7 separate regions of the Homo sapiens genome follow, and all the other regions are linked to region 2. The links are contacts of gene promoters, found by promoter capture Hi-C in blood cells and fetal thymus (Javierre and others, 2016). All regions are on one chromosome and are shown on one strand. Each heading gives the region's core, a stretch centred on a gene start or on the middle of the fragment in contact. The rest is flanking DNA. Distances are from core to core; before and after follow the strand shown.

Evidence for each region. The method cuts DNA at HindIII sites, captures the fragments that hold promoters and counts their contacts. A CHiCAGO score of 5 or more calls a contact.
Region 1: a fragment that was not itself captured here is called in contact with the fragment with the promoter of LRRC31 in region 2 in 5 of 17 cell types (neutrophils, total B cells, naive B cells and 2 more); the score reaches 7.8 in neutrophils.
Region 3: a contact is called between a fragment that was not itself captured here and the fragment with the promoter of LRRC31 in region 2, in 1 of 17 cell types (neutrophils). The highest score is 5.9, in neutrophils.
Region 4: a contact is called between a fragment that was not itself captured here and the fragment with the promoter of LRRC31 in region 2, in 2 of 17 cell types (total CD8 T cells and non-activated CD4 T cells). The highest score is 5.2, in total CD8 T cells.
Region 5: a contact is called between a fragment that was not itself captured here and the fragment with the promoter of LRRC31 in region 2, in 12 of 17 cell types (naive B cells, total B cells, naive CD4 T cells and 9 more). The highest score is 15.5, in naive B cells.
Region 6: a fragment that was not itself captured here is called in contact with the fragment with the promoter of LRRC31 in region 2 in 4 of 17 cell types (total B cells, naive B cells, naive CD4 T cells and 1 more); the score reaches 8.9 in total B cells.
Region 7: a fragment that was not itself captured here is called in contact with the fragment with the promoter of LRRC31 in region 2 in 2 of 17 cell types (naive B cells and total B cells); the score reaches 5.1 in naive B cells.

What each region holds. Positions count from the first base shown.
Region 1 is chr3:170,191,576-170,194,275 of GRCh38, reverse strand. No RefSeq gene overlaps it. Among named protein-coding and RNA genes, the nearest start is that of PHC3, 11 kb to the right of the region's middle. The HindIII fragment of the contact is 3,214 bases long and covers 1-2,700 here.
Region 2 is chr3:169,868,579-169,871,278 of GRCh38, reverse strand. LRRC31 (leucine rich repeat containing 31) reads left to right here and starts at 1,344. Exons shown (of 9, transcript NM_024727.4): 1 at 1,344-1,646. The coding sequence starts at 1,472. The HindIII fragment of the contact is 9,706 bases long and covers 1-2,700 here.
Region 3 is chr3:170,321,703-170,324,402 of GRCh38, reverse strand. No RefSeq gene overlaps it. Among named protein-coding and RNA genes, the nearest start is that of SKIL, 35 kb to the left of the region's middle. The HindIII fragment of the contact is 3,885 bases long and covers 1-2,700 here.
Region 4 is chr3:170,278,372-170,281,071 of GRCh38, reverse strand. It overlaps PRKCI (protein kinase C iota), which reads right to left. Exons shown (of 18, transcript NM_002740.6): 9 at 669-845. Among named protein-coding and RNA genes, the nearest start is that of PRKCI, 57 kb to the right of the region's middle. The HindIII fragment of the contact is 180 bases long and covers 1,328-1,507 here.
Region 5 is chr3:170,170,839-170,173,538 of GRCh38, reverse strand. PHC3 (polyhomeotic homolog 3) reads left to right here. Exons shown (of 15, transcript NM_024947.4): 3 at 827-982; 4 at 2,089-2,166. Among named protein-coding and RNA genes, the nearest start is that of PHC3, 9.5 kb to the left of the region's middle. The HindIII fragment of the contact is 1,241 bases long and covers 707-1,947 here.
Region 6 is chr3:170,134,643-170,137,342 of GRCh38, reverse strand. PHC3 (polyhomeotic homolog 3) reads left to right here. Exons shown (of 15, transcript NM_024947.4): 7 at 678-924. Among named protein-coding and RNA genes, the nearest start is that of PHC3, 46 kb to the left of the region's middle. The HindIII fragment of the contact is 181 bases long and covers 1,264-1,444 here.
Region 7 is chr3:170,150,907-170,153,606 of GRCh38, reverse strand. All of the region lies in intron 4 of PHC3 (polyhomeotic homolog 3), which reads left to right. Among named protein-coding and RNA genes, the nearest start is that of PHC3, 29 kb to the left of the region's middle. The HindIII fragment of the contact is 1,155 bases long and covers 736-1,890 here.

The DNA.
Region 1 (2,700 bases), core at 196-2,695, 320 kb before region 2:
GAGGGTTCCTTTTGTAGTTGATTTCTAGTTTTATTCCACTGTGGTCTGAGAAGATACTTGATAAAATTTCAGTTTTTTAAAAATTTACTGAGACTTATTTTGTGGCCTATCATATGATCTGTCTTGGAAAATGTTCCACGTGCTGAAGAGAAGAATGTTTATCCTGCAGTTCTCTGGTAGAATGTTCTGTAAATATCCGTTAGGTCCATTTGTTCTAGAGTGTAGTTTTAAATCCATTTTTTTCTTTGCCGACTTTCTGTCTTGATGATCTGTCTAATGCTGCGAGTGGAGTGTTGAAGTGCCCCACTATCATTGTGTTGCTGTCTATCTCATTTCTTAGGTCCAGTAGTAAATGTTTTATGAATCTTAGAGCTCCAGTATTGGTACATATGAATTTAGGATTGTAATATCTTCTTGTTGGATTGATCCTTTTATCATTATATAATTATCTTCTTTGTCCTTTTTTTTTTTTTTTTTACTGTTGTTGCTATTTACTTATTTATTTATTGAGACAGGGTCTGGCTTTATTGCTCAGGCAGGAGTAGAGTGGGATGATCACAGCTCACTGCAGCCTGAACCTACGACACACAAGTGATTGTCCCACTTCAGCCTCCTCATTAGCTGGGATTGCAGGCACACACCACCACACCAGGCTAATTTTTAAATTTTTTCATAGAGACAGGGTCTTGCTGTGTTGCCTAGGCTGGTCTTGAACTCCTGGGTTCAAGGGATCCTCCTGCCTCAGCCTCCCAAAGGGCTGAGATTGCAGGTGTGAACTGCCACACCTGGCTGTTGTTGCTTTAAAGTCTATCTTATCTGATAGAAGAATAGCTACTCCTGCTTGCTTTGGGTTTCCATTTGCATGGAATATCTTTATCCACTCCTTTACCTTGAGTTTATCTGAATCTTTATGTGTTATATAAGTCCCTTGAAGACAACAGATATTTGGTTTGCAATTTTTAGACCCATTCTGCCAATCTGTATCTTTTAAGTGAAGCATTTAGGCTGTTTACATTCAACATTAATATTGAGATTTGAGGCTGGGTATGGTGGTGGCTCACACCTATAATGCTAGCACTTTGGGAAGCTGAGGTGGAAGAATTACTTGAGCCCAGGAATTCCAGAGCAGCCTGGGCAACATGGCGAAACCCCATCTCTACAAAAAATACACACACACACACACACACACACACACACACACACAAACTTAACTGGGTGTGATGGTGCACACCTATAGTCCCAGCTACTCAGGAGGCTGAGGTGGGAAGCCCACTTGAGCCCAGGAGGTGGAGGTTACAGTGAGCCAAGATTGTACCACTGCACTCCAGCCCAGGTGACAGAGCAAGACCCTGTCCCCTCCCTGCAAAAAACAAAAAAACCCAAAAAGGCCATGCCTGCAATCCCAGCACTTTGGGAGGCTGAGGCGGGCAGATCACGAGGTCAAGAGATGGAGACCATCCTGGCCAACATGGGGAAACCCCGTCTCCACTAAAAATACAAAAATTAGCTGAGCATGGTGGCAGGCACCTGTAATCCAAGCTACTCGGGAGGCTGAGGCAGAAAATTGCTTGAACCAGGGAGTCAGAGGTTGCGGTAAGCCGAGATTGTGCCAATGTACTCTAGCCTGGCGCCAGAGTGAGACTCCATCTCAAAAAAAAAAAGAGAGATGTGAGGTACTGTTCCAGTCATCATGTTATTTGTTACCTAGATACTTTGTTTTATTCACTGTGTTATTGTTTTATATGCCCCATGAGTTTTATGCCATCAAGAGGTTCTACTCTAGTGCATATCAGCCTTTTGTTTCAGGATTTAGAACAGCTTTTAGCATTTCTTGTTGGGCTGGTCTGGTAGTGACAAGTTCCCTAAGCATTTGTTTGTCTGAAAATGATTTTATTTCTCCTTTATTTATGAAACTTAGTTTTGCTACATACAAAATCGTTGGCTAGGTTGGGCGTGGTGGCTCATGCCTGTAATCCTAGCACTTTGGGAGGCCAAGATGGGAGATGACTTGAGCTCAGGAGTTCAAGAGCAGCCTGGGCAGCATGGTGAAGCCCCATCTGTACAAAAAATACAAAAATTAGCCATGTGTGGTGGGATGCACTGAAGTGGGAGGGTCACCTGAGCCCAGGGAGGTTGAGGTTGCAGTGAGCCATGATCGTGCCATTCCACTCCAGCCTGGGCAAGAGAGTGAGACCCTGCCTTAAAAAAAAATTCTTAATGGGCCGGGCTTGGTGGCCCATGCCTGTAATCCCAGCACTTTGGGAGGCCGAGGTGGGTGGATCACAAGGTCAGGAGATCGAGAACATCCTGGCTAATACGGTGAAACCCCGTCTCTACTAAAAATACAAATATTAGCTGGGTGTGGTGGCGGGTGCCTGTAGTCCCAGTTACTGGGGAGGCTGAGGCAGGAGAATGGCGTGAACCCAGGAGGTGGAGCTTGCAGTGAGCCGAGATGGTGCCACTGCACTCCAGCCTGGGTGACAAAGCAAGACTCCCTCTCAAAAAAAAATTCTTGCTGGGCGTGGTGGCTCACGCCTGTAATCCCAACACTTTGGGAGGCTGAGGTGGGTGGATCATGAGGTCAGGAGTTCGAGACCAGTCTGGTCAACATAGTGAAATCCCGCCTCTACTAAAAATACAAAATTAGCAGGGCATGGTGGTGCATGCCTGTAATCCCAGCTACTTTTGAGGCTGAGGCAA
Region 2 (2,700 bases), core at 95-2,594:
GGGCTGGGCCCTGCTCTAATATGAAAGGAAGATTTTAAAAGAAAAATGGAATGTCCAATTGTGACTTCCAAAGCAGTGCTCCAAGTGCATGGAACATTCCAGCCCTCACGAGTGGAGGTGGGCTCTGCAAGGTCCATTTTTAGGATTCCCTGTGTAAAATGTTTCTTGGACCATTCTGGAACATAATGTTACAGAAAGAGCTATTTTATTAGAGAGGAGACTATGAAAACTGTAATTTCAAGAATACTTCTGCTGGGCATGATGGTTCACACCTTTAAGCCCAGCACTTTGGGAGGTCGAGGTGGGCGGATCACTTGAGGCCAGAAATTCAAGACGAGCCTGGCCAACATGGTGAAAATCCATCTCTATGTCAAAACAAAACAAAACACTTCTGTGTATCCCTTTAGTTTAAGTCCTTAGCCCTCCCATAAAATATAAGCAAATTTCAGGAGAGATAATAGATTGACCTTTACGAATCCTTTTTAGCTTCAATTCATACCAGACCTCACCCCTAACCTCCACACCCCCTGACCCACATCCCCACCTCCAATGCTAGGCTCTTCCAGCCGTTCCTGCCTGGGAGCTCTTGAGCTTACCCTTTCTTCTGCCTGGGATACTCTTCCCTCTCTTAAAAAGCTAACTCGCAGTCCTTCAAAACCCAGGCAATGTCACTCACTGTTCCAAGTCTGTTCTCCAAGGCATGCTTAGTTTACTGTGGGTTCCCTGACCACCTCCCATCTCTTGGCTCTTGTCCCACTCAATCAATGGCATACAGGTCCATCTTCCCACCAGGTTAAGATCCCATCAAAGACAAGAACTGTCTCTTGTTCGTCATTGAATCTTTTGCATTTAGAACATTAACTGGCCCACAGTAGATTCTTTAAAACTATTTATGGAATGAATGAATTCTTTACTGCCAACATGTTTCAGTGGGGTGGTGGTGCAGGGTTGGGGGTAGAGAAAATATGAATATGCAAAGAGAAAAAGGAGCTTATGTGCAAAGGAAGGAGGTGGGGGTCACCAGAAGGCAGAGGTCGCTGAAGGCAAACTCCTCTGGGGACAGCTTTGCAAATGGCCAGTCCCTTTTAAAGGCATATTAAGTCTTCAGGTAACTAATTGACAGCTGTAATTTAAGATGTGTTGACACACTTGATGTGCTTGCCAAAGTCATGCTTAATGACTTGTATCTCACACAATGAAATAGGGCAAAGTTAAAAACTCAAATTGCTTTGAGTTTGTATTGGCTTCTGGATCCTGGGTTACATCATTCTTATTTTCATGTTAAACATTAACAGCAATAAAAAAACAGAAAAAGAAAGGTGGTGCGGCAGGGAGTGGGGGGCAGTCATGTAGGGGAGGATATTTTGATTGAACACAGGCTTGACAGAATCTTCTTTTCTTCTTAGAAATCCTAGAAAACAGAAAGCAACAGGAAGATGTCTTATTGGGAACTACCCCCATCAACTTCACCATGAGTCAAACAAGGAAGAAAACTTCCTCAGAAGGAGAAACTAAGCCCCAGACTTCAACTGTCAACAAATTTCTCAGGGGCTCCAATGCTGAAAGCAGAAAAGAGGACAATGACCTTAAAACAAGTGATTCCCAACCCAGCGACTGGATACAGAAGACAGCCACCTCAGAGACTGGTAAGCTGCTGGCTGCTGGTGTTTTTGCTGTTGTATTTGTTTTGTTTTTACTTCCACATTTAAAATATTTTTATTTTTAATTTTTGTGGGTACATAGTAGGTGTATATATTTATGGGGTATATGAGATGTTTCAATACAGGCATGCAATGCCTAATAATCATATTGTGGAGAATGGGGTATCCATCCCCTCAAGCATTTATCCTTTGTGTTACAAACAATCCCATTATACCTTTAGTTTTATTTATTTATTTATTTATTTTGAGACAGAGTTTCACTCTTGTCACCCAGGCTGGAGTGCAATGGCGTGATCTCAGCTCATAGTAACCTCTGCCTCCCGGGTTCAAGCGATTCTCCTGCCTCAGCCTCCCGAGTAGCTGGGATTACAGATGCGCACCACCATGCCCAGCTAATTTTTGTGTTTTTAGTAGAGATGGGGTTTCACTGCATTGGCCAGGGTGGTCTCGAATTCCTGACCTCAGGTGATTTTCCTGCCTTGGCCTCCCAAACTGCTGGGATTACAGGTGTAAGCCATCACACCAGGCCTCTTTTAGTTATTTTTAAATGTGCAATAAATTATTGCACATTTAAAAATAACTAAAAGAGCACAACGGGTTGTTTGTAAACAAAGGATAAATATAGTCACCCTGTTGTGCTATCAAACAGTAGATCTTATATATTCTATTTTTTCTGTACCCATTAACCATCCACACCTCCCCCACCAACAACACACACACCCTTCCCAGCCTCTATGTTTCTTTATTTTTTAGAGTTTTCTTCTAAAGTGATCTTATGGGTTAAACTAAAGACTTTAAGACTTTTGAGACTAAAGACTCAACTATGAGTCTCTGTGCTAATCATTTATTATGTTACTTACATGCTTTAAATGATTCATAATTTTACTTTTAAATTGTTAAAAGCAATATAACACTACAGAAAAATGTAGGGAAAATACTGAATTTCCTTTCATTATAACACAAACGATCATTTCTTTAAGATTCTTTTCAGTCTTTTCTTTTCATATGCATGCATTTATGTTCTGTCAGTCAGCAGTCA
Region 3 (2,700 bases), core at 68-2,567, 450 kb before region 2:
ATGAAGTATGTGATCCAATATATTTGAGACTTATGTTCTAGGGTAATGCTGTCCAATAGAAACATAATGTGAGCCACAAATGTGAGCTTCATGTGTAACTTTAAGTCTTCCATAGCCACAATTTTTTAAAAAAGTGAAATTAATTTTAATATTATATTTAATCCAGTATGTCCAAAATATTCTCATTTCAACAAGTAACCAACATCAAAATTATAAATGAAATATTTTTCATTTTTTCAACTAAGTCTTCAAAATATAGCATGTAGTTTACAGTGGCACCACATCTCAATTTGGACTGGCTACATTGCAAGTGCTCAATAGTAGTACATGTGGCTCATGGCCACCATGGTGGACAACACAGCTCCCAGGTATTAGGTCCTGGATATTAGCGGATATATGAGACAAGTGCTGCCTCTAGAACTGCTTCTGATGACAGACTTCTTGGGGTTGAGACATAACTGAACCTGCCTCATCTCCGCAGTACACCCAAGGCGGTAAGAAGTGAATTACAACTCATTAAACATCTACTTTTCAGTTAAGCACTTTTACGTCCATTTCATTTAATTTTCTAGCACCTACTTTGAGGTAGAGCTTATTAAACTATATCAAACATGAAGAAATGGAGTCATAGAACTAGTTAGAATCCCAGTCTTTTTTTTTTTTTTTCCTTTTTTTCAGTCATCTTTCCATCAGGCCAAAGAATCCTTCTCTTCCTCCAGAGCCCCGAACCACAAATTCTTCTGAACAACACTCATTGCCTCTTCTAAAAGCTACTGAGCTCATTTCACTTACTGTTTTGTAATGCTGTTACCTACTGAGGACGCTTTCATAGAGCAAGCGAGCAAAGTCTGTGCAGTCAGACCACAGGGCAGTCACGGTGCCCTCCTCCATCTCCCGAAAGGACAAAAAATGCATATTATACAGGCCACTCATACTCTCCAACCGTGATCTGTCTGATTTCCCAGCATGGAACTCTCCTGGTTGGGGCTGCTTTATGTGAAGTCAATCTGTAGTAGATTAATTAAACACTGTATTGATTTTGTATTCTCTGGGGCACTTCTAAAAGGGTTATATTCTTGAAGCCCCTTCTCTGAGTTAGTAGAACACTTCCCCTTTGCAAATGTGATACTTAGAATTTTATTACAGTCCTCCCACCCACCTCCACCCAGACATCACCCCCTCCCCGTCTTCGCGTGGCATAAAATCAAGTTCTGGCCCTTCCCAAAAGACAGTCATGGCAAGAAAAGAGGGAGGGAGTCCTGCTGGTTTTCAGGTCATGTTGATTTAACACTTCATGATTTATGCATTCTGGCTGTCTTGCTTGTAGATTTTCATTTTTACATCCTGCTAAATACCTTGCAGGGTGTTGTTTCTTTTAATTAGTTAATGTTTGTAAGGCACGTTACAGATGAAAGTGCTGTGTCAGTGCTAAATGTGAACATTGGGGTATCCTCAAGCTGTCCTTTGTCTGCCCAGGGGTTTTCTGTGTAACGCAAATTGTGAGAGAGATCTGCATTTGGAAAAAGGCTTGGCTGTTCTGTTTTAGACTGTAGGTCACTAAAATATACGTATTTGGGAATTAAAAATGGCAGTAAACACAGGACATTTTGCATTAGCACAGTTTTCTGACCCCGATGTAACAGTGCTTTCTCTACTTACTGGAAGTGTGATGATCTGATGCAGAGTGAGAAAAGAACATTCCCTACGAACTGGAATTGTGCGGTTTCTGTGGCAGAACCTTAACCTTCCTGATATGTAACAAATAATACATGGTTGGGTTTATGTTTTGTTTCGTCTGTTCAGTGAGTGGGTGACTGAAACAATTTAGCTGCTTTTCTACTGTGTCTGCGTAGGAAAATGGATTCATTTAAAATTACAGCACGTTAATTAAGTGTTCAGTAATATTTCACTAAGAAAAATGTTAAATACCAGTTTTATTTGTTTTTGCAACATATTCACTAAAACTGAGTTTGTCACATTTCTACGGGTGTAAAGATTCATGTTAGGCATGTTTATTAAGGTGTTTGATTTCATATGGACCATTTTTGGAAACACACAAAAAAATGTTTTCTTGTGGAAGGTTGGCTTTCCATTCTTTATTTTCTAATCATCAGCTTTTAATCTAGGTTGATATTTAAAAATAAGAAATCTGCATAAAGCCAAGCAGAGATAGTTGGAGACTTCTATTTTACATAACAGCAAGGGTTACAAAAAATGTGACTTTTTTGGTACCTTTCATTTCGTATATAAACAAAAAATAAGGTAAATTTGCAGCCTAAAACCCACTTGATAGTTTCTCTCAAATCCACAAAATGGCTGTCACCTGCAACAAATTTACAGTAACATTAATAAATGATATTTTGGCTGATCCAGAGTTTATTCTAAGACTGTAGCAAATTATCCCTTCCTCTTTTCATTGATTTTCAATGTAAGAAAATCCTCACTTTATTCTTAATAATCAACATTCCTAAATGCTCCAGCAGGATCCTCAGTCAATGTAAATTTACATAATTCATCTTCTTCCACTCAACTTGTTTTTCTATAATTAGTGCAGCTGTCACCAGGGAGCCACATTCTTGTGGGCAGGTAGCTATGGGTACAGAAAGCAGGCTTCAGTCAAACATTTCCTTTTAAACCATCCATTTGTTTTTTCTCCTCTTATTTCAAATAAGTCGAGTCCTGTAACGAAGAATTTGTTTC
Region 4 (2,700 bases), core at 168-2,667, 410 kb before region 2:
TAACTAGGCTAAATATCAAAACCATTGATAATCATGAAACGAAAATTTACATACAAAGAGAAAAATAACACTAGTCAATCTTTCAGTATTATAAAACTGTCTAGAAAACTTTTACAAAGCTCAAGTATTTCTCCTGATAATAATGTGGTTTGATTTTTGTTTTTTTAAAAAAATCTAATAATCAAATTACTTTAAATATCTTATACCATCTATAAGAAAAGTAAACCGAAATAATATATTTCATTTACTTAGCACATATTTAGAAAAGCAGAATGAGATAATAAAGCACAAACATAGAGGTTTTCTTTAAAATAGTACTCTTGGCTGGGTGCGGTGGCTCACGCCTATATTCCTAGCAACTTTGGGAGGCTGAGGCGGGTGGATCACTTGAGGTCAGGAGTTCAAGAGCAGCCTGGCCAACATGGTGAAACCCCATCTCTACTAAAAATACAAAAATTAGCTGGGCATAGTGGTGCATGCCTGTAATCCCAGCTACTTGGGAGGCTGAGGCAGGAGAATCACTTGAACCTGGGAGGCAGAGGTTGCAGTGAGCCAAGATTGCACCACTAGCACTCCAGGCTGGGTGACAAGAGCGAAACTCCGTTTCAAAAAAAAAAAAGAATAGTATTCTCAAGCAGTTTAGAAGCAATAAAATATGCAGTGCTTACCTCATCATCATTAACAAGCTCTTTTTTCACAACTTTCATTGCATAAATACGATCTGTTTTTTTTAATCGAACCAACAGTACTTTGGCATAACTTCCTCTTCCTATTACCCGGAGCAAATCAAAATCCTGAAGACCTAGACTGGATGAAGCTTTGCCACTTTCCCTGGTGTTCATTGCCTGTTGAGAACATTTGTATCAGAGTTATAATGGGAAATGCTTTGCGTAGTACATTATATTTCTAACACCTAGTTGTACCTATAACGATTTAAAGATATTTTCCTAACATAAAAATATTTTAAGTTCTTAATATTTTTCAAATGTCATTCCAAACCAAATAATCTAACTATCCAGATTATATGGATGAATTTTGAGATAAGAGGGATGGTAATAAGAATGGGGAGGGAGTTGAAATCACAAAAACATCGAAGGATGTCTTAAAAAGGATACGATAACTTTTGGGTACAGAGGCAATAGAGATGCAGGAATTAAAAAAACACATTAACCTTGGTGACCAAGAGATTGGGGGTACCACTGACAGGGAACGTCAAGTGTGTGGCTAGGATAAGATTGACAAAGTTACTGGAGAGAACGATTGGGTTTTTCATGATAAATTCAGAAGTTATAATGAGACATCAAGATGAAAGAGTCTGCTGGAAGCTTGATACATAGAATGTAAGCTAGTGAGAGCACACATTCAGAGGCGTTTTTGGATGCTATAGACAGAAAACAAGCATGAAGTAGTTCAGCGAATGGAAGACATTCTTTTCCACAGAATACCAAGACCCCTTTGGGACGACAAAGTAAGCCTTAAAATTCATTCACAACTACAAATGTAAGCTTCTAGCAATTTACAGAGAAGCCTGAAGACAGTCTTTTATTAGATGCCTGCAAAATCATCAGCACACAATGGACCCATGAGAATAAAGTATGAAATCTCTGAAGTGAAGAATACCAAGAAAAGCAAATAGTAAATTTTGAGAAAGATAAAGAAACCCGCAAGCACAAAACTGAAAGAAGGGTATTAGAAAAACTGAGTGAGAATGACAACTTAAAAACTTAGAAATAATAATTTAGGCTGCGCACAGTGGCTCATGCCTGTATTTTCAGCACTTAGGGAGGCTGAAGCAGGTGGACTGATTGAGCCCAGGAGTTCAAGACCAGCCTGGGCAATGTGCCAAGAAACCTCATCTCTACCAAAATATACAAAAATTAGCCGGATGTTGGTGGTGTGCACTGTAGTCCCAGCTACCTGGGAGGCTGAGGTGGGAGGATCACCTGAGCCAGGCAGGTCAAGGTTGCAGTGAGCTGTGATTGTGCCAGTGCGCTCCAGCCTGCATCACAAAGTGAGACCCTGTCAATAATAGTAATAATAATAATAATTTGATTTGGTAACAAGGTGATAGTTTGTATATCTGACCCCTCCAAATCTCAAATCTCATGCTGAAATGTGATCCCTAGTGGGAGGTGTTTGGGTCACAGGGACAGATTCCTCATGAATGGCTTGGTGTGTTCCTGTGTAATGAGTGAGTTCAGAGTGTGGCACCTCCCCTGACTCCCTTGCTCCCTCTCTTGCCATGTGGCACACCTGCTTCCCCTTTGCCTTCTGCCAAGACTGAAAGCTTCCTGAGAAGCAGATGCTAGTGCAATACTTACTGATCAGCCTGCAGAACCGTGCACCAAATAAATCTTGTATAAATTACCCAGCCTTAGGTATTCCTTTATTCCTTCCTTCATTTATTTATTTATTTAAGAAAAGGTCTTGTTCTGTCACCCAGGCTGCAGTGCAGTGGCACGAACATAGCTCACTGCAGCCATGAACTCCTGGGCTCAAGTGATCCTCCTGCCTCAGTCTCCCAAGTAGCTGGGGCTACAGGCATGTGCCTCCAAACCCGGCTAATTTTTATTTATTTTTTGTAGACATGGAGGGTCTTGCTATGTTGCCAAGGCTGGTCCTGAACTACTGGCCTCAAATGATCCTCCCGGTCTAAAGTCCTAGGATTATAGGTGTGAGCTGCCACACCCAACCTTCAGG
Region 5 (2,700 bases), core at 78-2,577, 300 kb before region 2:
TGACTAGTTGTTACTGTATAGGACAGCACTGATCTACATTACTATTTGTTATGGTTGCATGGTAAAGGTATTTCTCTCCACACCCAAGCCCTGAATTCTACGAAGTTTTATCCAAAAAGGTTATGCCAACTTGAATTTTTACTAGCAATATGGGAGTATTGGTTTCCCCAGGTAGTAGTAGTATTCTTTTAAATCTTTATCCATCTGAAAGTTGGAAAACAGTATCTTGTTTTAATTTGTAAGTTTTTGACTACTGGTGAGATTGAAAATCTTTTGAAATGCTTAGTTGGCCTGGCCTGTCTTTTGCGAATTGTCCACTGGGTTTTGTTTTGTTTTTTTTTTTTTGAGATGGGAGTCTTGCTGTGTCGCCCAGGCTGGAGTGCAGTGGCATGATCTTGGCTCAACTGCAGCCTTCACCTCACAGGTTCAAGCGATTCTCCTGCCTCAGCCTCCCGAGTAGCTGGGGCTACAGGCATGTGCCACCATGCCTGGCTAATTTTTTGTGTTTTTAGTAGAGACGGGGTTTCACCATGTTAGCCAGGATGGTCTTGATCTCCTGACCTTGTGATCCGCCCACCTCGGCCTCCCAAAGTGCTGGAATTAACAGGCGTGAGCCACCGTGCCCGGCCCACTGGGTAGTTTTAATGTGTACAAGTTAGTGATTTCTAGTGATATGTAACTAGGAAAGAAATAATGTTAATAAGCTTGATGATATTATGTATTAAAGCAGTGAAATTTTAAACTGCCACTTTTTTATACTTTGATTTTCTGATTAAGATAAAGGTTGAGATTATGGTTTGACATTGGTTCAATTGACTTATCACAGGTAATTCAACAGGCATTGCATCGGCCCCCCAGCTCAGCTGCTCAGTACCTTCAGCAAATGTATGCAGCCCAACAACAGCACTTGATGCTGCATACTGCAGCTCTTCAGCAGCAGCATTTAAGCAGCTCCCAGCTTCAGAGCCTTGCTGCTGTTCAGGTAAGACTAAAATAAGAGTTTATGAGATCAAAGTTTCTGTTATCTGTAGGTAGTTACTGAAAATAAATAGATTGGGTATTATTTCAGAGTTCTCAGATGTCCTGTGGTTATTTTTCCCGGAGGAAATATATTAATAGGTTGCCGAATAGAAGTTAATTGAGAAAAAGGGGATATGTTTTTTTATGTTACTCTGTTTCTAGCTTTTGTCTCAGTGCTTTTTATCCAGATTGAAGAAATGCTATGCTAGTTTATGTGTATAAAGTTCTAGGTACAACAGTGAGTACTTAGGCTTACATAAATTGTATTTTTACTAAAAATAAGATTAAAAAAATTATATAAGTAATTATACTCATTAAAAAATCAAACAATATTAAGTTGTTTATAAGAGATAAAGTAAAGCTGTTCCTTTTCCCTGTCTATCACTGTTTCCCGTTCTTCAAAGGTGGCCACAGTAACAATCTAATACATATTTCTCCAGAAATTTTTTATACAAAGATAGGTATATCCATTTTTCTAAAATCCAATCATATTATTCCTACTGATAACAGGATTTCATTATTAAATGCTTGTTTTTAAAAAAGATTTTTGTTACTATTGTACTATTTAAATAAAGCTGTGTAAGATTTAATCTTAAATCCCCTCACCAGAGGAGGATCTCAATTGACTGAACCTGAAAAAGGTTTATTTCTGTTACCAACAGATTCTCAGCTGTTGCTTCTTAGTAGTGTAATTTTTAAATAACATGTTTGTGATACAAGTTAGGAAACTGAAACCCACTCACTGGCTCTTGCTGTAGCTCTAATTTCTTTTTCATAACTCTGGAGTAGTGATTCCACTTTAAAGATGACAGAGACCCATAAAGTGAAACTGACAATAAAGTAGCTAATAAAATAAGATTAGTCTTTGGATCCCCTGTTTTCACCATTCAGCTTTTCCTTATTTAAAAAATCTGTTTAACCGAAGCTTAAGCCATGTTGACTATAAAATTAGTTGTTTCATACATAGGCCTTTTGACATTTATTGTTGTGGTTTTGTGTTATCATGGTACCAGAAAGTTCTTAACTTCAGGTTTTTACCGACATATTCTAAAAGTCTTACTATTTTAGGCAAGTTTGTCCAGTGGAAGACCATCTACATCTCCCACAGGAAGTGTCACACAGCAGTCAAGTATGTCCCAAACGTCTGTAAGTTCCCTAAATTTTTTTTTCCTGGATTTAAAATTTTAAAGAATTGTTTTCCAAAAGTAAACTGTTGTTATTTATGAAGCTGTTATTATAATTTGTTGCATGCTGTTTAAAGTAACAATTGCCCAGAAATAGAAATGATAAAATTCAAGAATTCAGAACTAATGTTAAACTTATGAAAATCTGAGTCTTAAAAAAATCTTTTTGTATTATTTCTTGTATATCCATTTGCACTGATCATGTTCAGATCTTATGTGGTTTCAGCTTTCTGTGTGTATTGAAAGCCTAAAATATACAATGCAGGGATATTGGCCATGAATTTACTGTGATATACAATAGTATGTCATGTCCTTGGTAGACATCTAAGCATTTCTAACTTTGTGCAATTCACATTTTAGAAATTATACTTTCAGCTTACATGAGTTATTTGGGTTCAATTTGCAAGTATCCATTCAAGATAGGGTAATTTATTTTGAGAAAGGAGTAAAAGAAAGCTGATTCGCTATATTGCACATATATATTGGGAAATTGTGC
Region 6 (2,700 bases), core at 105-2,604, 270 kb before region 2:
ATGTTTCATATAGCCCTGAGTGTAGCAGGAGCCACCATAGAAAGCCATTTCAGGGTCATGCAGAGTCTTTTCAGTTCATGAGATGTAGTTTTCAAAGGCAGTGAATGTTCAATAACACCACCACCAAAATTTTACTAAATTAAAAGAGTTGCTTGAAAATGCTTTTCATAATTTTCACAATGGGGCAGATGATTTGATGAATTAATTTTCTTACAAGGTTAATGTCCCCTTAATCTCTATAGCTAGAACTGGTAACTTTTAAATGCAGTATGTTGCAGAGTAATTTCCTCATATTCACAGTTCATACATATATAATACACACACTGTCTGTATATATATATACATACTGCTTTTATTTAGTTCTTTATGATCCTTCCCTTCTCCTCCCCTTCCCTCCCCCTTTCTTCTTCCCTCTCTTCCTTTCTTTTTTTTCTCTCCCTCCCTCTTTTCTTTTCTCTTATGTCTTTTAAAAAATTGCCACTTAATATTTAAGATGTGATTACTTAGAATAATAACTCTCCTTTCCTTAAGGATTAATCAGTTCTTTCAAGTGCTTGGAGCTTTACGTATGAAAAGCATAATATAAATGTGTTGTCAGTATTGTCATAATGGTAATGATGACCACATCAATTAAAACCATCTGTTTTCATCCTAATTTTCTGTTATGTGGTTCTTAGGTTCAGAATTTAACATTACGCAGCCAGAAGTTGGGTGTATTATCTAGCTCACAGAATGGTCCACCAAAAAGCACTAGTCAAACTCAGTCATTGACAATTTGTCATAACAAAACAACAGTGACCAGTTCTAAAATCAGCCAACGAGATCCTTCTCCAGAAAGTAATAAGAAAGGAGAGAGCCCAAGCCTGGAATCACGAAGCACAGCTGTCACCCGGACATCAAGTATTCACCAGTTAATAGCACCAGGTGGGATAAAACTTTTGTTGAAAATAGTTGTATTATTCATTTTCTTAGCAGACAGAGCAAAACAAAGGATGTTCATGACTTGAACAGGAGTGACACCTTTAAAACATTTTAAAATGTGAATTTTATAAACTTAATCTTAATGTGTAGCTTGAAAAGAGACAAAAAAGCCCAAAAGATAAAATAAATTGTAACAATATAATAGGTTTTTTAAAATCAAATTACATTTGATTATCATCTTTAAGCACTGGTCTCTCCTTATATTGATAAAACCTTCTATCTTTAAAAAAAGATTTGCCTGTAGTTTATTTAATATACTTCAGTGGGATAATTTTTAAAGCTTTTAAAAAAGCAGTATACTATTTTGTTTAAAGTTGTTATCAGTGGGAGAAATTTGTCACTTTGAAACATAGGATTATGCATAATTATTTTCCTTATGTTGTTGTCTTTTTCTGCCTTTGATTTCATCTCTGAGAGGATCATCTCAGGCAATCACCTGAGTCACTGTCATTCTTCTCAAGCTTTGAATTCTACCTTTGCTTCCTTTACTTTATCCAGATAATCTTGCCTCATGGTTCTCATACTGAAAATGTGGGGGCCATCCAGAGTGAGCTTACTGTCTCTTCTGTTCATCTCAGAATTTCTCAGGATTGAATTTTGTTTACTTTTGATAAGATAAAGAGTTACATGTATTCTTAAACTTAGCACCATTTGCCCCTGTTGTTGATCCTACCTTTTTTTTTTTAAATTTCCTGACCTTCTTTAGTACATAATTGTTACAGCGTCTTTTATCTTCTCATGCTAGACCTTTTCCTTTGTTTCTCAACCATAATTAGGTCTCCCTTATTCTTAATGTAGCTGCATAGTTTTCTAAATCACTATAACTATATATTGTTTGAGTGTGTGTGTATGTGTATGTGTGTTGCACTGGGCTATACACCTTACAAATGTTTCATTAAAAAAAAAAATCTGGGCGGGTGCAGTGGCTCACGCCTGTAATCCCAGCACTTTGGGAGGCTGAGGTGGGTGGATCACTTGAGGTCAGGAGTTTGAGACCAGCCTGGCCAACATGGTGAAAACCCATCTCTACTAAAAATACAAAAATTAGCAGGGCATGGTGGTGCACACCTGTAGTCCCAGCTACTTGGGAGGCTGAGGTATGAGAGTTACTTGAACCTAGGAGGCGGAGGTTGCAGTGAGCCAAGATTGCACCACTGCACTCCAGCCTGGGCGACAGAGCAAGACTCTGTCTCAAAAACAAACAAACAAACAAACAAACAAAAAACTTCCTTTGTTCCAGCAACCTCATCGGGTAAGCATCTTTTTTCTGTCCTTTTACAACGCTGCTTTGCTTTTTAAAGACTTGTTTTATACTTAGGTGTAAGTGTAAAATATTCCACTTAAACCTATTTCACTTCTCAAGTTTCCTGTGTTAATACTGCCAGCATTCTCTACATCACTGAATCTCAATACTGTGGCATTGTCTGATTACCCTAGTTAGAAATTTCTCCTCCCTCTGAACTTTTATGGTCCCTTCTGGTTCTCTTTCCTTTATAGTTACTTATATACTGATCTTAGCTTGTCTGCTAGATAGTAAGCTCCTTGAGGGTAAGATAATAATATTGGGCATTTATGTATGTGTGAGGCACTGTGTTAGTACTTTACATTAACTCTTTAATCCCTTTTTGGATTCATCTTTTCATCCTTGTATCTTGACAGCACTAAGTTGTATCTTATACGTACTTACGTATGTTAGGTAGGAGGTACATATTTGTTGGA
Region 7 (2,700 bases), core at 64-2,563, 280 kb before region 2:
TATTTTTAGTAGAGATGGGGTTTCACCGTGTTATCCAGGATGGTCTCAATCTCCTGACCTCGTGATCCGCCCGCCTCGGCCTCCCAAAGTGCTGGGATTACAGGCGTGAGCCACCGCGCCCGGCCTCAGAAGATTCTTAAATGGGTAATTAATATTAATAATCAGGGAAAGATTATCTGGCAAGTAGAAGGTGACAAGATTCCAGTAAGAGGTATCAGTTTGCAGATATTAAAGTAATCAAGCCAGAAATGACATGGGCCCAAAGTCTCAAACTAAGTGATGAAAAATCAAAATGGAAATTAGGAGACAAAAAGATGTATTAGAAACAAGATACGTGACTGATTTTGTGTGTGTGGTAAAGGAGAGGGAAGCATCAGGATGACTTCCAGATACTGTGTCTTGGAGAATTTTAGAAAATGCCAGTGCCATTTGAGGAGAAGCTGTTTTAAAAGGAATAATTAGTTTGCTGTTTGAACATGCTGAATTTGAGCTGGTAAAGGATACCCAGAAAGATGTGTTCTGTAGGTATTTGGATCTGGAACTTCAAAAAAGGGTTTATAGTTAAGAATCAAGAGTCATCAGGATTGAATTGTTTGAAACCGTGGAAGTAGATATGATAATCTAGGAATTCAAGAAGAAAAGTGTGGTCTGGTGCGATGGCTCATGCTGGTAATCCCAGCACTTTGGGAGGCTGAGGTGGGGGTATCGCTTGAGCCCAGGAGTTTGAGGCAAGCTTGGGCAACATGATGAAACCCTGTCTCTACAAAAAATAACAAAGATTAGCCGGGTGTGGTGATGCATGCCTGTAGTCCCAGCTACTCAGGAGGCTGAGGTGGAAGGATCATCTGAGTCTAGGAAATTGGGGCTGCAGTGAGCCATGATCACTCCACTGCACCCCAGCCTGGGTGACAGAGGGAGACCCTGTCTCAAAAAAAAAAAGAAGAAAAGTGTCAAAGACAGAGCATGAACATTTTGGGAGTGGGTGCAAAAGAAGAGCTGGTAAAGAAGACTGAGAGGGAATGGTCTGAAAAGATTCCACTGATTTTGTCAGTTAGATGTTGGTGACTATTGTTAAGGTGATTTCAGTGATGTGTTAGGAATAGGATCTAAATTACAGAATAGGCTGGGCACGGTGGCTCACGCCTGTAATCCCAGCACTTTGGAAGGCCGAGGGGGAGGGATCGTGAGGTCAGGAGATTGAGACCATCCTGCCTAACACCATGAAACCCTGTCTCTACTAAAAATACAAAAAAAAAAAAAAAAAAAAAATTAGCCAGGCGTGGTGGTGGGCGCCTGTAGTCCCAGCTATTCAGGAGGCTGAGGCAGGAGAATGATGTGAACCCAGGAGGTGGAGGTTGCAGTGAGCTGAGGTCGCACCACTGCACTCCAGCCTGGGCGACAGAGCGAGACTCTGTCTCAAAAAAACAAAACAAAACAAAACAAAAACAAACAAAATTACAGAATAATTCTGTATTGTATTAGTGGTATTTATGCATTGATTTATACATTTAACTATTATATTAAAATAAAAATATGTGATATATATACATTTAGAGAATTAGATAACCAACTGTCATGTGCCTACTATACAGTTTTTTAAACTTTTTTATTTTAAAATAATTATAAATTAAATTCCTATAAATCATAGGAAGTTGCAAAACTAGTACAGAGAGGTCCTCCTATATAAACTTCACTCAGCTTCCTCCAGTCACCATTCAGTTTAACAAGTGTCCTGGGTTAGTTCAGATGTTAATGTCTTGGGCTGGGTTATGGAACCGTACAGGGAGTGTGGATGTGGATTCTATACCCCTACCTGGTGTAAGCCTGGAGTTTTGATTCTCATAGGTACCTCCTTCCCTGCCTCCACTAGGAGCAGGGCAGATGCAAGCTTCTTTGCTGTTTCTCAGAACGTATGGGTGGAGCTTTTCCAGCTCCTTCTTACATATTGGGCAGCTCTTTTCAGGATTTTGGCTCAAAATAGGGATTTGACTTGTAGCCCTCCCCTGAAATAAGCACAAAGATGGATCTTCTGGCTCTATAGAACCAAGATACCCTTATAGACTGCCTTGGTGTCAGCTGAGGTGACATCTCTCTGGCTTTGAGTTTCTTCCTTTCTGGCACCAGGAATTTCCTTTCCCAGCTTTTCTCTCCCTTTTGGAGTTCTGCTGTATATTCTGATTTTTTCATGTTGATCTAGCATTTCAGTGATACCGTTTGGTCACATGGATGTATTAGTCCAGTCTGCCTTGTTGCTTGAATAAGAAGTCCAATAAAGTATTCTTTTTTCTAATAAAATATTTATTAATTGTATTCTGTGCTTTGTTCCACAAAATGATTTGAGGTTGGATTATATTATTCTCTGTTTAAAAATATTATTATTATTATTACTAGTATTTGAGACAGAGTCTCGCTCTGTTGCCCAGGCTGGAGTGTAGTGGCGTGATCTTGGGTCACTGCAACCTCCGCCTCCCGGGTTCAAGCGATTCTCCTGCCTCAGCCTTCTGAGTAGCTGGGATTACAGGCGCGTGCCATCACACCTGGCTAATTTTTGTATTTTTAGTAGAAATGGGATTTCACCATGTTGGTCAGGCTGGTCTCAAACTCCTGACCTTGCGATCCGCCCACCTCAGCCTCCCAAAGTGCTGGGATTATAGGCTGGAGCCACCTCACCCGGCCAAAAATATTATTTATTTTTAAAAT